Regions from separate parts of the Homo sapiens genome. Here region 1 is linked to region 2. Evidence: promoter capture Hi-C in human tissues and cell types (Jung and others, 2019). All regions are on one chromosome and are shown on one strand. The core of a region is centred on a gene start or on the middle of the fragment in contact, and the rest is flanking DNA. Distances in the headings are between cores, read along the strand shown. Region 1 overlaps ZNF563 (zinc finger protein 563). Region 2 holds the start of ZNF564 (zinc finger protein 564).

Evidence for each region. Contacts are between HindIII fragments. The study calls those that stand out against the background at their distance.
Region 1: a fragment that was not itself captured here is called in contact with the fragment with the promoter of ZNF564 in region 2 in 2 of the 25 tissues and cell types used here (liver and pancreas).

What each region holds. Positions count from the first base shown.
Region 1 is chr19:12,314,622-12,321,305 of GRCh38, reverse strand. ZNF563 (zinc finger protein 563) reads left to right here. Exons shown (of 4, transcript NM_145276.3): 3 at 1-34; 4 at 1,473-3,829. The coding sequence ends at 2,712. Among named protein-coding and RNA genes, the nearest start is that of ZNF563, 16 kb to the left of the region's middle. The HindIII fragment of the contact is 6,161 bases long and covers 2,073-6,684 here.
Region 2 is chr19:12,546,993-12,554,708 of GRCh38, reverse strand. It overlaps ZNF564 (zinc finger protein 564), which reads left to right and starts at 3,227. Exons shown (of 4, transcript NM_144976.4): 1 at 3,227-3,379. The coding sequence starts at 3,377. It overlaps LINC02926 (long intergenic non-protein coding RNA 2926), which reads right to left and starts at 2,983. Exons shown (of 2, transcript NR_187485.1): 1 at 1,840-2,983; 2 at 1,065-1,334. RefSeq lists enhancers at 1,175-1,674, 1,675-2,176, 2,960-3,254, 3,320-3,429, 4,088-4,590 and a silencer at 3,660-3,739. The HindIII fragment of the contact is 29,302 bases long and covers 1-7,716 here.

The DNA.
Region 1 (6,684 bases), core at 3,904-6,403, 240 kb after region 2:
AAGATCAGTACAAAAATCCTAGGAGAAATCTAAGGTAATTTGCACTCACAGGAGAAAGTTATGTTTCTGAAGTGATTCTCAGAGTAAAAGGAAATTTTAAAAACAAAGAAAATGAACAAGTCCAGCTTAAATTTATTTTTTAATTTTTTAAATTAACTTTTTTTTTTAGTCAGGGCCTTGCTCTGTTGCCCAGGCTGGAGTGCAGTGGCATGATCTTGGCTCACTGAAGACTCGACCTCCCAGGTTCATGTGACCCTCCCACCAGAGCCTCCTGAGTAGCCAGGACTACACGTGCAAGCCACCACACCTCGTTAATTTTTGTATTTTTTGTAGAGACAGGGTTTTGGCATGTTTCCCAGGCTGGTCTTGAATTCCTGGGCTCAAGCAATCTGCCTGCCTTGGCCTCCCCAAATGCTGGGATTACAGGTGTGAGTCACTGCACCAGCCTAAATTTATTTATTCTTAAAAAATTTCCTCCTAAAACATTTTATAAGAATTTACATATGAGGCTGGACATGGTGGCTCATGCCTGTAATCCCAGCACTTTGGGAGGTTGAGGCAGGCAGATTACTTGAGGTCAGGAGTTTGAGACCAGCCTGGCCAACATAGTGAAACCCTGTCTCTACAAAAGTACAAAAGTTAGCTGGGCATGGGGGTATGCACCTGTAACCCCAGCTGCTTGGGAGGCCAAGGCAGGAGAATTGCATGAACCCAGGAGGCGAAGGTTGCAGTGAGCCGAGATTGCGCCACTGCACTCCAGCCTGGCGACAGAGCAAGACTCCGTCTCAAAAAAAAAATTAGCCAAGTGTGTTGGTGCACACCTATGGTTCCAGCTACTCATGAGGCTGAAGTAGGTAGATCACTTGAGTTCAGGAGGTCAAGGTTGCATGAACCATCGTTCTGCTACTGCACTCCAGCCTGGTGACAAAGCAAGATACTGTTTCAAAAAATAAATTAATTAATTAAAAAGAAAAGGAAAAAAAAAAAACCCAGCTGGTGTTGGGTTGTCTTGCATAGCATTCAGTTCATTCATGTTCAAACAGGGCATGAAGCCTACACTTTGCATGGTAATGATAAAAAGGTATATCTGGCCAGGCGCAGTGACTCACTTCTGTAATCCCAGCACTTTGGGAGGCCAAGGGGGGGTGGATCACGAGGTCAGAAGTTCGAGAACAGCCTGGCCAGCATGGCAAAACCCTGTCTCTACTAGAAATACAAAATTAGCTGGGCGTGGTGGCGTATGCCTCTCTAATCCCGGCTACTTGGGAGGCTGAGGCAGGAGAATCGCTTGAACCCGGGAGGAAGAGATTGCAGTGAGCCGAGATCGTGCCGCTGCACTCTAGCCTGGGTGACAGAGCAAGACTCCATCTCAGGGAAAAAAAAAAAAAAGTACATCCAATACCTATTAATACACATAAATAAATAATCATTTAGAAACAACTATTTAGTAACGTACTACTCATTTTTTACAGATGTCATATGGTAGAGAGATTCAGTGAAAGTAAAGACAGTAGTCAGTGTGGAGAAACATTTAGCCTCATTCGAGATAGTATTGTGAACAACAGCATTTGTCCTGGAGAAGATCCATGTCAAAGCGCTGAGTGTGAAGAAGTCATAATGGGTCATTTATCCCTTAATAGCCACATCAGAGTTGATTCTGGACACAAACCACATGAGTATCAGGAATATGGAGAGAAGCCACATACACATAAACAACGTGGGAAAGCCTTCAGTTACCATCACTCCTTTCAGTCGCGTGGAAGGCCTCACACTGGAAAGAAACGCTATGAGTGTAAGGAATGTGGAAAAACCTTCAGTTCTCGTAGAAACCTTCGAAGACACATGGTAGTGCAAGGTGGAAATAGACCTTATAAATGTAAGTTGTGTGGGAAAGCTTTTTTTTGGCCCAGTTTATTACGTATGCATGAAAGAACTCACACTGGAGAGAAACCGTATGAATGTAAGCAGTGTTCTAAAGCCTTTCCTTTTTACAGTTCCTATCGAAGACATGAGAGAATGCACACTGGGGAGAAACCGTATGAATGTAAGCAGTGTTCTAAAGCCTTGCCTGATTCCAGTTCCTATATAAGACATGAAAGAACTCACACTGGAGAGAAACCATATACATGTAAACAGTGTGGGAAAGCCTTCAGTGTTTCCAGTTCCCTTCGAAGACATGAAACCACTCACAGTGCAGAGAAACCCTATGAGTGTAAGCAATGCGGGAAAACATTTCATCATCTTGGAAGCTTTCAGATACACATGAAAAGGCACACTGGAGATCGACCTCATAAATGTAAGATATGTGGGAAAGGCTTTGATCGTCCCAGTTTAGTTCGATATCATGAACGAATTCACACTGGAGAGAAACCCTATGAATGCAAGCAGTGTGGGAAAACGTTATCTCATAGCTCAAGCTTTCGAAGACACATGATAATGCACACTGGAGGTGGACCTCATAAATGCAAGATATGTGGGAAAGCTTTTGTTTATCCTAGTGTATGTCAAAGACACGAAAAGTCTCACAGTGGAGAGAAACCCTATGAATGCAAGCAGTGTGGGAAAGCGTTATCTCATAGCTCAAGCTTTCGAAGACATATGGTAATGCATACGGGAGATGGGCCGAATAAATGCAAGGTATGTGGGAAAGCCTTTGTTTATCCCAGTGTATGTCAAAGACATGAAAAGACTCACTGGAGAGAAACAATATGAATGTAAACTATTATAAAGCCTTCTATATTTCCAGTTCCCTTTGATATCATGAATAAACTTACACTGGACAGAAACCCTATAAATGTAAATGTGGGAAAGCCTTTCATAATTTTTATTCCTTTCAAAATCATGAAATATCTCACACTGGAGAGATGCTGTATGATATAAGGAATGTGGGAAAGTGATCGATTTTTTTTTAACACCATTGTCAACATAAAACAACTCACAGAGCAGAAAAACTCTGTGAGTGTAAAATATGTAGGGAAGCCTTCAGTCATTTTGGTAACTTAAAAGTACATGAGGCTGGGCACAGTGGCTCACGCCTGTAATCCCAGCACTTAGGGTGGGCAAATTGCTTGACCTCAGGAATTTGAGGCCTGCCTGGGCAAAATGGTGAAACCATGTCTCTACAAAAAATAGAAAAAGTAGCAGGTGTGGTGGTATGCCCCTGTAGTCCCAGCTACTTGGGAGGCTGAGGTGGGAAGATCTCTTGAGCCCAAGGGGTGGGGGTTGCAGTGAGCCAAGATGCACTGCACCCCAGCCTGGGCGACAGAGCCAGACCCTGTCTCAAAAAAAAAAAAAAAGTACATGAAAGGATTCACTCTGGAGAGAAGTCATATGAATGTAAGAAATGTAGAAAAGCATTGAGTTCTCTCAGGTCCTTGCATAGACATAAAAGGACTCACTGGAGAGATACTCTATAAATGTGTGAAATGTAGGGAAGTATTCTTTAATGTTATTTCATTTCAGATAGAAATAATTCTCATTGGAGATAAACCCTATGAATGTAAACACATAGTAAAGCCTTAATTTTAAGCCTCAGTTTCTTTCAAATACAGTTATCCCCTAATATTTGCAGGAGCGTGGTTCTACCACCCCCTGGGCATACATAAATCGACACATGCCAAGTCCTTTTTTAAAAATGACATATTTGGTACAAAATTACCCGGATGTGATGGCACATGCCTGTAATCCCAGCTACTCAGGAGGCTGAGGCAGGATAATCACTTGAATCCGGGAGGCGGAGGTTGCGGTGAGCCAAGATCGCGCCACTGCACTCCAGCCTGGGCAGCAAGAGCAAAACAACCTCTGTCACACACACAAAAAAAAAAAAAAAGGAAAGAAAGAAAAGACATATTTGGGTTAGACACAGTTGCTCACCTCTGTAATCCTAGCACCTTAGGAGCCCAAGACAGGTGGATCACTTGAGCCCAGGAGTTAGAGGCCAGCCTGGGTAATGTGGCAAAACCCTGTCTCTACAGAAGATACACAAATTAGCCAGGTGTGGTGACATGTACCTGTAGTCCCAGCTACTAGGGAAGCTGAGGTGGGAGGATCGCTTGAGCCTGGGAGGTTGAGGTTGCGGTGAGTCAAAATCACATCACTGCATTCTAGCATGGGCAACAGAATGAGACCCTGTCTCAAAAAAATAATAACAATAAAAAATATTTGCATGTAACCTACCCACATCCTCCTGTATACTCTAAATCATCTGTAGATTAGTTAAAATACATCATGCATCATAGAAGCTATGTAAATAGTTGTTATTATATTGTTTAGTGAATCATGATATGAGAAAGACCCTACACATATTCAGTACAGACCCACCCACATAATACATGTCACCTAGAGCATTATAAATCTTTTCTTTCAACACTCATAGATTGCTTTTGTTTAATGACCTGAAAATGTGTTAACATTCACCCAACAAAAGTGTAATGATGATTATTGCAATATCGTGCCTAATGTTGTGATGTGTTGAGTCAGCTAGATGTGTGACACCACAGATAAGCAGTGAGACCTCAGGCTAACTCGAATCTTGACAGGATGTCAACATGATCAACTATATTGGAAGAAACAGATTCTGACTGCAGATACTGAATTTTTGGAGCAGTCTAAATAATACTAATGTCAGAATCTGTTCAATTTGAGGACTGAAGATCTTTAAGCATTGAAGGCTGTCTTCATATTTGCAGATATTTAATTAGAAACATTGTAGGAAGCTAGTTTTTTTTTTTTTAAACTTTGCAACGTTTGTGAGCATGTAATCTCTGGGGTGACATGGAGGCTTTGTTCCATGGAAGAATCTTAATTGAGGATGATAATCTTTAACACTTGCGCCTTGTAGAAGCTGTAGGTGCCCTAAAACTGCTTCCAATTTTTCTTTTTTTTTCTTTTTCTTTTCTTTTTTTTTTTTTTTAAGACAAGATCTCACTCTGTCACCCTACAGTGCATGGCTCACTGCAGCCTCAACTTCCTGGGCTCAAGTGATCTTCCCACCTCAGCCTCCCAAGTAGCTGGGATTATAGGCACACATCACGATGCCTGGCTACTTTTTGTGTTTTTTGTGGAGACAAGGTTTCACCATGTTTCCCAGGCTGGTCTTGAACTCCTGGAATCAAGAGATCTGCCTGCCTTGGCCTCCCAAATTACTAGGATTACAGGGTGAGCCACCACACCCAGCCTTCAGATTTTTCAAGTATCAAAATCTATAGCACTGCTTCTTTTTTTTTTTTTCAGACAGAGTCTCACTCTGTCGCTGAGGCTGAAGTGCAGTGGTGCAATCTCAGCTCACTGCAGCCTCCACCTCCCAGGTTCAAGTGATCCTCCTGCATCAGCCACCTGAGGAGCTGGGATTACAATCTCAGCTCACTGCAACCTCCACCTCCCAAGTTCAAGTGATCCTCCTGCCTCAGCCACCCAAGTAGCTGGGAATACAGGCATGCACCACCATGCCCAGCTAATTTTTGTATTTTTAGTAGAGACAGGGTTTCGCCATGTTTGCCAAGCTGGTTTTGAACTCCCTGTGACTTCAAGTGATCTGCCTGCCTTGGCCTCTCAGAATGCTGGGATTACAGGCATGAGCCACCACTTATGGCACTGCCTCTTTATTTATTTATTGAGACTGAGTCTCACTCTGTCACCCAGGCTGGAGTGCAGTGGCACGATCTCGGCTCACTGCAAACACTGCCTCCTGGGTTCAAGCGATTCTCATGCCTCAGCCTCCCAAGTAGCTGGGATTACAGGTGCCCGCCACCACACCCAGCTAATTTTTGTATTTTTAGTAGAGACGGGGTTTCACCATGTTGGCCAGGCTGGTCTTAAACTCGTGACCTCAGGTGATTCACCCGCTTCGGCCTCCCAAACTGTTGGGATTACAGGCGTGAGCCACCACGCCTGGCGGCACTGCCTCTTCTAAATCTACATCATCATCATCATCATCTATAGAGGATTTCAGCATATCTTCTAGTTCCTTGTTAGTAAAGGTTTCTTCTTTGCTCTTCTGTGTGTTCCTCAACATTGTCTTCACTTGTGTCAGAGATAGCCTTCCCCACCAACTTTCCTTACATTTAAGATATTTCTGACTATCATATCGATAGTGCAGAAGCGCCTGAAATCATTGACTTCCTCACTCCATAATGGCTTCCAACACACTTTGGCTGTCTTGAGCTGTAGGGCATTTACAGCCTCCGCAATAAACACAATCGTTTCTGCAGTTGGGAAGCTCTTCCATAAATCCTGTATGACATGGTGAGGGTTATTATCAAGACAGCATAAATCCTTCCAAAAGTCCAGTGGGTGTAAGACACCTTGAGGCACTTGATGATGCTTTGATCAAGTAGTTGTAGCAGTGATGTAGTTTTAGGAGGCAGGAACATCACTTCCCCATTTTTATCGGCATAACAGAGAGAAGAGAGATGCCAGGAGCGTTGTCAGTTATGAGGAGGGCCTTGAGTGGCAGCCCCTTCTTTTCAAGGTATTCATTCACATCAGGAATGAAGCAGTGGTAGAACCAAGTCCTCGTGTGTTTTTGTCAGGACACGGGCAGGCAAGTTTCGCTTTTGTTTTCAAGGACCCACGGATTGTTTACTTAGTAGAGGAGGCTTTGTTTGATCTTATGACCTGCTGCATTGCCACGTAGCACCAGAGTAAGGCAATCTTTCCAAGTCATGAACCCCAAGGCTTTCTTTG
Region 2 (7,716 bases), core at 1,978-4,477:
AGGCATGTACCACCACACCATGTGCTGCCACGCCATGTGACGCCACACCTAAAACAGTTTTAAAGAAAGGAGACAAAAAATTATTAGGCTGGGCACAGTGGCTCTTGCCTGTAATCCCATCACTTTGGGAGGCGGAGGCGGGTGGATCTCTTGATGTCAGGAGCTCAGGACCAGTCTGGCCAATATGGTGAAACCCCATCTCTACTAAAAATACAAAAATTAGCCAGGCTTAGTGGCACACACTTGTAATCCCAGCTACTCAGGAGGCTGGGGCAGGAGAATCGCTTGAACCCTAGGAGTCGGAAGTTGCAGTGAGCAACTTGAGATCTCGCCACTGCACTCCAGCCTGGCGACAGAGCAAGACTCCGTCTCAAAATAATAATAATAATACATAAAAAGAAAAATATTTTTTTCTGAGACGGAGTCTCACTCTGTCGGCCAGGCTGCAGTGCAGTAGTGATCTCGGCTCACTGCAACCTCTGCCTCCTGGGTTCAAGTGATTCTCCTGGCTCAGCCTCCCAAGTAGCTGGGACTACAAGTAGCTGGGACTACAGGCACGCGCCACCACGCCCAGCTAATTTTTGTATTTTTAGTAGAGACGGGGGTTTCACCATGTTGGCCAGGAGGGTCTCGATCTCTTGACCTCATGATCCGCCCACCTCAGCCTCCTGAAGTGCTGGGATTATAGGCATGAGCCACCGCGTCCGGCCTTTTTATTTATTTTTCATAGAGATGGGGTCTCGACATCTTTCCCAGGCTGGTCTTGAATTCCTGGGCTCGAGCAATCCTCCCTCCGCAGCCTCCCAAAGTGCTGGGATTACAGGCGTGAACCACTGCATCCAACCCCTGTCCAGATAATTTTTGGCTTCTGTGTAGCATTCCTTTCCCCAGCGTACAGGACAGGACACTCTTTGGAGTGAGAGTCTTATGACCCACGATCACATTAGAGTTCTGCAGTGGACAGGTGAATGGGGGGCAGGAGAAGGTCAGAGAGAGAGAGTTTCTGTTTACTGTAACAAGGACTATGGGAGTTATGAGTCAGGAAGCATGGATGGAAACCAATGTATAAATCATAATAGCATAGCTGATATCTTTGTTTTCTCAAAGGAATCATTACTTGCCAGTTTTAAAATCCATATAAAGTATTTTAGAATTTTTTGTCTTCCAGCTTATACATAACCACAGAAGGAAAGCAGGAACTCTGCTAGTTTCTTAAAAACAAACAAACAGCAAAGGGGATTGAAGGTCTTTTTTCTTACCTAAGTGGATCAGTGTTGGTGAGAAGCAAGTGAATAAACTGCAGTGGGCAGGAGAGCCTGAGACCAGTCTGGAGCCTGCAAAGAGAGGGAAAGGGTGCTTCTTGGGCAGCCTGCCCGCCCTTGCAGGTGGCCTCCAGCTGCTCAGGAGTGCAGATTCTTTTTTTAATTTTAATTTTATTTTTTACTTTTATTATTTTTTTGAGGCAGAGTCTCACTGTTTTGGCACCCAGGCTGGAGTGCAGTGGCGCAGTCTGGGCTTACTGCAACCTCTGCCTCCCGGGTTCAAGCGGTTCTCCTGCCTCAGCCTCCCGAGTGGCTGGGATTACAGGCACGCGCCACCACGCCCGGCTAATTTTTGTATTTTTACTATAGACGAGGTTTCACCATTTGGCCAGGCTGGTCTCGAACTCCTGACCTCAGGTGATCCGCCCGCCTGGGCCTCTCAAAGTGCTGGCGTGAGCCACCGCGCCTGGCCAGGAATGTGGATTCTGAGAAGCTGCAGAGCTGTGAAAAGCAGGAGACCCATGTGCAGATGTGGTTGGGTTGGGGGTGGAGGGTTCTGTCTTTTCTGAGGTTGTACCTTTGGCGCCTGGGGCCATTTCCTGGACAGTGTTTTGGTTTTAGCATTCATGGGGTCGCTGAGTCAGGCTGTAATTTGTATACATGAAGAAAATCTGTGAGGGTCAGACTCAGTGAAAAACTTGTTTGCATTGTCCCCTGGAGAAAAGGTTTGGGAACATGACAATTTATTTAGGTCACGACTTTACATTGACTCCGGGTGAGAGTTTCCTGCTGGTACAAATGAAGGTTTTGAAGGAAAGAGTGTTTCCACACTGTGAGGAGAGGACTGGAGGGCACCTTGAGCTCCCAAAGTTGAATTCTTAAGTGTCCCTGTCTCATCACCAGGTTCTGATCCACACTGGGGTTCCATTTCAGCAGTTAGAGTCTGGGTCCCAAGCTTGGGATTATTTTATTTTATATTTCATTTCTTCATTTCATTATTTCATTTCATTTCATATTTCATTTTTTAGTCTCGCTCTGTCGCCCAGGCTGGAGTGCAATGGCGCTATCTCGGCTCACTGCAACTTCCCCCTCCCAGGTTCAAGCGATTCTCGTACCTCAGCTTCCCGAGTTGCTGGGATTACAGGCACCTGCCACCACGCCTGGCTAATTTTTGTATTTTTAGTAGAGATGGGGTTTCACCATGTTGGTTAGGCTGGTCTTGAACTCCTGACCTTAAGCAATTTTCTCACCTTGGCCTTCCAAAGTTCTGGGATTACAGGCGTGAGCCACCGCGCCCGGCGCTTGGGAATATTTTTAACGTTATGATTGTGGGTTTTCCTTGTGAACTGCGGGTGAAGCAGGCTGCTTGTCTGAGCTAGTTCAAATGTTTGCTTACTTCTCTTGGTTTCTTTATAGATGATCGCTGTCATAAAAACTCCAGTTTTTCCTATACATTTAATACTTTTATTTCTTTGTCCGTTTTAATTTTCTTGCCTGAAAGAAGCAAGCCCTCCTCCCTCCTGTTACACTGTGGTCTGGCCTGGCCTGGGCGCGCCTCCTACTCCGAGGCCAGGGGATGGCTCCACTGGACGCCGAGTCTGTCATTCCCTGTGCACACTTGTGACTCTGTGTCCGGGAGGAAAAGGCAGGAAGGGCACCCTGAGTGCAGAAACACGCCAGTGTCACCTCTGCAGAGCCTGAAACACTTTCTGCTTAAATGCAAATATCCTCCCCGGCACAGAAGGTTACAGAAGGAGGAAGCCCGGCCCGCGAAGGGCAGTGGCCAAGACCCTGTCAATCTGTCTTTACTCAGCCACATACCGCATTGCTTCTCCTGTCACTCAGTACCAAGGGGGCAGGACTTGAATCATCACCCAATCAGGGGCACTGGGGCGGGAACCTGCAAACCATCCAATCAGGAACTCTGCAAGGGGGACAGGGGCAATGTTCAACAACTCCGCGGGGTCTTCCTGTTTCGTGTCCGCTGCGTTTGGGTTCCGGTCTCCGCTTCTCCAGTGGCCCCGGTGGCTCCACCGCAGCGTCTGGCGCGCTGGGACCTGCACAGGCCGGAGAGAGCCGTAGGCAGGACCCCGGGACACCCTGGAAGCCAGGAAATGGTGCGTGTGCGGGGCCGGGCGCCTGGAGACTGGGGGAGGGGCTTGTGGGAACCGGCCGGAACCGGCTGTGGAAGCACCCTGGCCTCCCTGCAGCGACTCCAGGGTCTGGGACCCGAGTTCCCTGGCGCAGCTCGGCCCTCTGTCCCCTCGGCCGCAGGGTGGGTTGGGCCGTAGCCAGTACCCCAGGCGTCCTGTCCCGTCCCTGCGCGGCGACTGCGGCCTCGGCCTCGGAGCCCTGTCTGGGCAGCTCCGCGCCCGCAGCCCCGCCTCTCTCCAGATTGTTTGTACTGGGACACGGGAGGGTCATAAGGCGGAATCCCGTCTCGGGTGTGCGGTTCGTGCATGGGAAGAGCTGTGGGCTGTGGCCTTCCCAGTACATCGTCTTTTTTTCCGGGGGACTGGTCTTCCTCCGAGTCTTCCAAACGTACTGGAAAAAGAATCTCAAACCTACGACTCCCGTTTTTTTTAGCCTAGCTTTTTCTGGGGCTGGAAATAAATGCCTAAATTTCCGGTTCCTTCCCCGCATTCCCAAAGGTGACCTCCCCTCGCCAAATCAACATTATCAGCTGTTTTTTGTTTGACATTTAAGACACAGTATTTTAGTTGTTTATAGTTTCTTTCACCATACTCTTTTGAAAGGATTTGTTTTCTGTTTGTTGTTTTTTTTTTCTTTTCAGACAGAGTTTCGCTCTGTCGCCCAGGCTGGAGTGCAGTGGGAAGATCTCAGCTCACTGCAACCTTCGCCTTCCGGGTTCAAGCAATTCTCCTGCCTCAGCCTCCTGAGTAACTGGGATTACAGGCATGCGCCGCCACGACCGGCTACTTTTTGTATTTTTGGTAGAAACTGGGTTTCTCCATGTTGGCCAGGTTGGTCTCAAACTCCAGACCTCAGGTGATCCGCTCACCTCCGCCTCCCAAAATGCTGGTATTACAGACGTGAGCCACCGCGCCCGGCCTCTTGTTTGTGTACTTGTAACCTGAGAGGGAAACGGAGAATAAGAACCTGACACTCTACGGTAAAATTTTTTTTTTTTTTTGAGACAGAGTTTCGCTCTTATTGCCCAGGCTGGAGTGCAATGGCGCGATCTCAGCTCACTGCAACCTCCACCTCCTGGGTTCAAGCGATTCTCCTGCCTCAGCCTCCCGTGTAACTGGGATTACAGGCATGCGCCACCATGCCCGGCTAATTTTGTATTTTTAGTAGAGACAGGGTTTCTCCATGTTGGCCAGGCTGGTCTCGAACTCCCGACCTCAGGTGATCCGCCTGCCTCGGCCTCCCAAAGTGCTGGGATTACAGGCGTGAGCCACCGCGCCCGGCCGTGGTAAAAAAATTTTTGTGCTTCCCCTCCTTTTATCTTTCCTAAGCCCCGACGCCTAATCAGAATGTCTTTGGGTGGAGTTTCCCCTTTGGAAACTTTACAAGGTGATGTGGCCCTCTATCTTTTCCTGGTCCTGATTTTCAGAACTGCCTGGGCCTGACCCAGGATACCCACAGCTGCCACTTCTCTTGGAGGATCTAGTGATTATCAACCCCTGGGTCACTCCTCCCAGAGGACAGCTTAAGGTGTAGGGGTGGGGCCTCTCACGGGAGCAGCTGTATGCCCTGAGGTGGGAGGAGTCTCCCGGTATCCCCTTCCTCTGAAAAGTTTACCCTTTGGGACGCTCAGCTTTTCTTCCTCAACCCCAGTTTCCGTTCCTTAGGGACACATTGATGGTTACCCAATCTTAGGCTGTTACTGAGAGGAAAAGACACAAATGATTCCTGACCTCTGGATTGTTTTTAGTCTAGTGAAGGGAGGAAAACTATCTCAAAGGAGAAGGAAAACCTGCCCCATTGAAATGGTGCGAGAACCTGAAAGTTAAAATGCGCTTGGGGCAGAGTGAGCAGGGCACAATTCACTGTCTTCAGGGAGGTTGGTCACTGAGCACTCAGTGAGCCAGGGTGGGGCTGGGAGATGTCCTAGGGGATAGGGTGACCTCACCTGACATTGGAATCAGATAAATGTCTGTATTCCAGGTCAGCATTGCCTCTCCCTGGGTTTGTAAACCCTTGAAAAGGTTTATTTGCTTATTTGATCCTGTTTTTCATTAAATGTAGAATGTATTTTATCAGTAGTGCTTGAAAGACAAGATAAAGTGTTTGCAAAGGGAGGGTCACAAAGGGGAGAAAGAGGCAGAAAGTAGATTTGAGGGAAAACAATTATCTAGTCTTACATTCAATTTGTTAAAAAATCTTATTTGTGTAGTTTCCTCTCCGCAACATGTATGGTAGGTTTCTCAGGTCTATTTTCTTCTTTTGGGTGATTTCAGATCAATCCCAGAACTTAGCCTTGAGAATGCTACTGCGGATAAGAATCTCAGATAAGTAGGGAAATTCAGTCTTCCATTATGGCTACAGAGAAACGAATACATTTCCACATTAATTGGTGAAATACAGAGATTCTCTAAAATATCTTCTCCTTTGCAGGGTAGAGATTTTGTCGTAATGGATAACTGTTCTGTATCCTTTCATCTGGACTTTGGTGATTAATGCTAAATCCTATCAGATGGGACTTTGAAATATTAAATATTAGTGAATTAAATATTAGTAAAGAAGTTGTCATGGAAGTAACAATAATGTGAGGTCTCTATTGTCTGAAAGGGATAGATAAATGTGCTTTTCATGTTTAAGCTATAGAATACAAATGTCTTGCCAGCCGCGATGGCTGACGCCTGTTATCCCAGCACCAAGGCAGGTGGATCACGAGGTCAGGAGATCGCGACCATCCTGGCTAACATGGTGAAACCCCGTCTCTACTAAAAAATACAAAAAATTGGCCGGGCACGGTGGCTCACGCCTTTAATCCCAGCACTTTGGGAGGCCAAGGTGTGCGGATCACAAGGTCAGGAGATGGAAACCATCCTGGCTAACACAGTGAAACCCGGTCTCTACTAAAAATACAAAAATTAGCCGGGTGTGGCGGTGTGTGCCTGTAGTCCCAGCTGCTGGGTGGCTGAGGCAGGAGAATGACGTGAACCCGGGAGGCGGAGGTTGCAGTGAGCCGGGATCGTGCCACTGGACTCCAGCCTGGGCGACAGAGCTAGACTCCGTCTCAAAAAAAAAAAAAAAAAGAATACAAATGTCTTACAGTTTCCTTTCCTCCTATATACATAAATGGTAAGTTTGAGTGATTTTGCTGGATTCTTCAAACACAGGATATTTTCTTACTTAAAAATAAGTGAAACTGGGCGTGGTGGCTCATGCCTGTAATCCCAGCCCTTTGGGAGGCTGAGGTGGGTGGATCACCTGAGGTGAGTTTGAGACCAGCCTGACCAACATGGAGAAACCCTGTTTCTACTAAAAATACAAAATTAGCCGGGCATGGTGGCGCATGCCTGTAATCCCAGCTACTCGGGAGGCTGAGGCAGGAGAATTGCTTGAACCCAGCAGGCGGAAGTTGCGGTGAGCCGAGATCGTGCCACTGCACTCCAGCCTGAGCAACAAGAGTGAAACTCAGTCTCAAAAAAAAAAAAAAAAAGTAAGTGAATATAGTCTTGTCTAAGGAAGCAGAGGTCTGAGGCCAAGTGTGCCTCAGAGTGACTCCCAACTAAGAGCCTGCAAAGGGAGGTCATTGAAGTCCCAGTTGGTTCTTCCTGGGTAGAACTTGGCAGGCATCCCAGCCTTATCACTCCAACCAGGGGAGGGGTCCTTTATACTGAGAGAAGCTACAGACCACTGGGAAGCTGGGGATGCACACATAGGCATAGTTGGGAGGGTGATACCCTGTCTGAGGTTGTAATAGTTAATTGTTCAGATAATAACAGTAAACCATGGGCTCCCATGATTTGAGAGAGTTGTTTCTAGACATCCTCAAATACAAGAAATCCGGAGTTAGGTAAGAAGTGACTTTATGTGAAAGGAGTATAACGAAAAGGTGAAAGCAGTAGATACAAGATCTGCAAGCATCCCAGAGGTTAGGCAGAAAAAGGCTTTTCTGGTGGAAGTGGCGGCTTACATCTATAATCCCAGCACTTTGGGAGGCCGAAACAGGAGGATTGCTTGAGGTCAGGAGTTTGAGACTAACCTGTACACATAGTAAGACCATCTCTCTACAAAATTAAAAAAAATTGTGGTGGTGCACACCTATAGTCCCAGCCGAGGCTGAGGTGGGAGGATCCCTTGAGCCCAGAAGATCAAGGCTCCAGTGAGCAATGATTCTGGCATTGTACTCTAGCCTGGACAACAGAGCAAGACCCTGTCTCCCCTCCTCTTCCCCTAAAAAAGTTTTTCATTCATGGGGAGGAACAAATAAGATTAGGAATAGGTGGGAGGAGAGGGCAGAGTGGAAAGTGCAAAA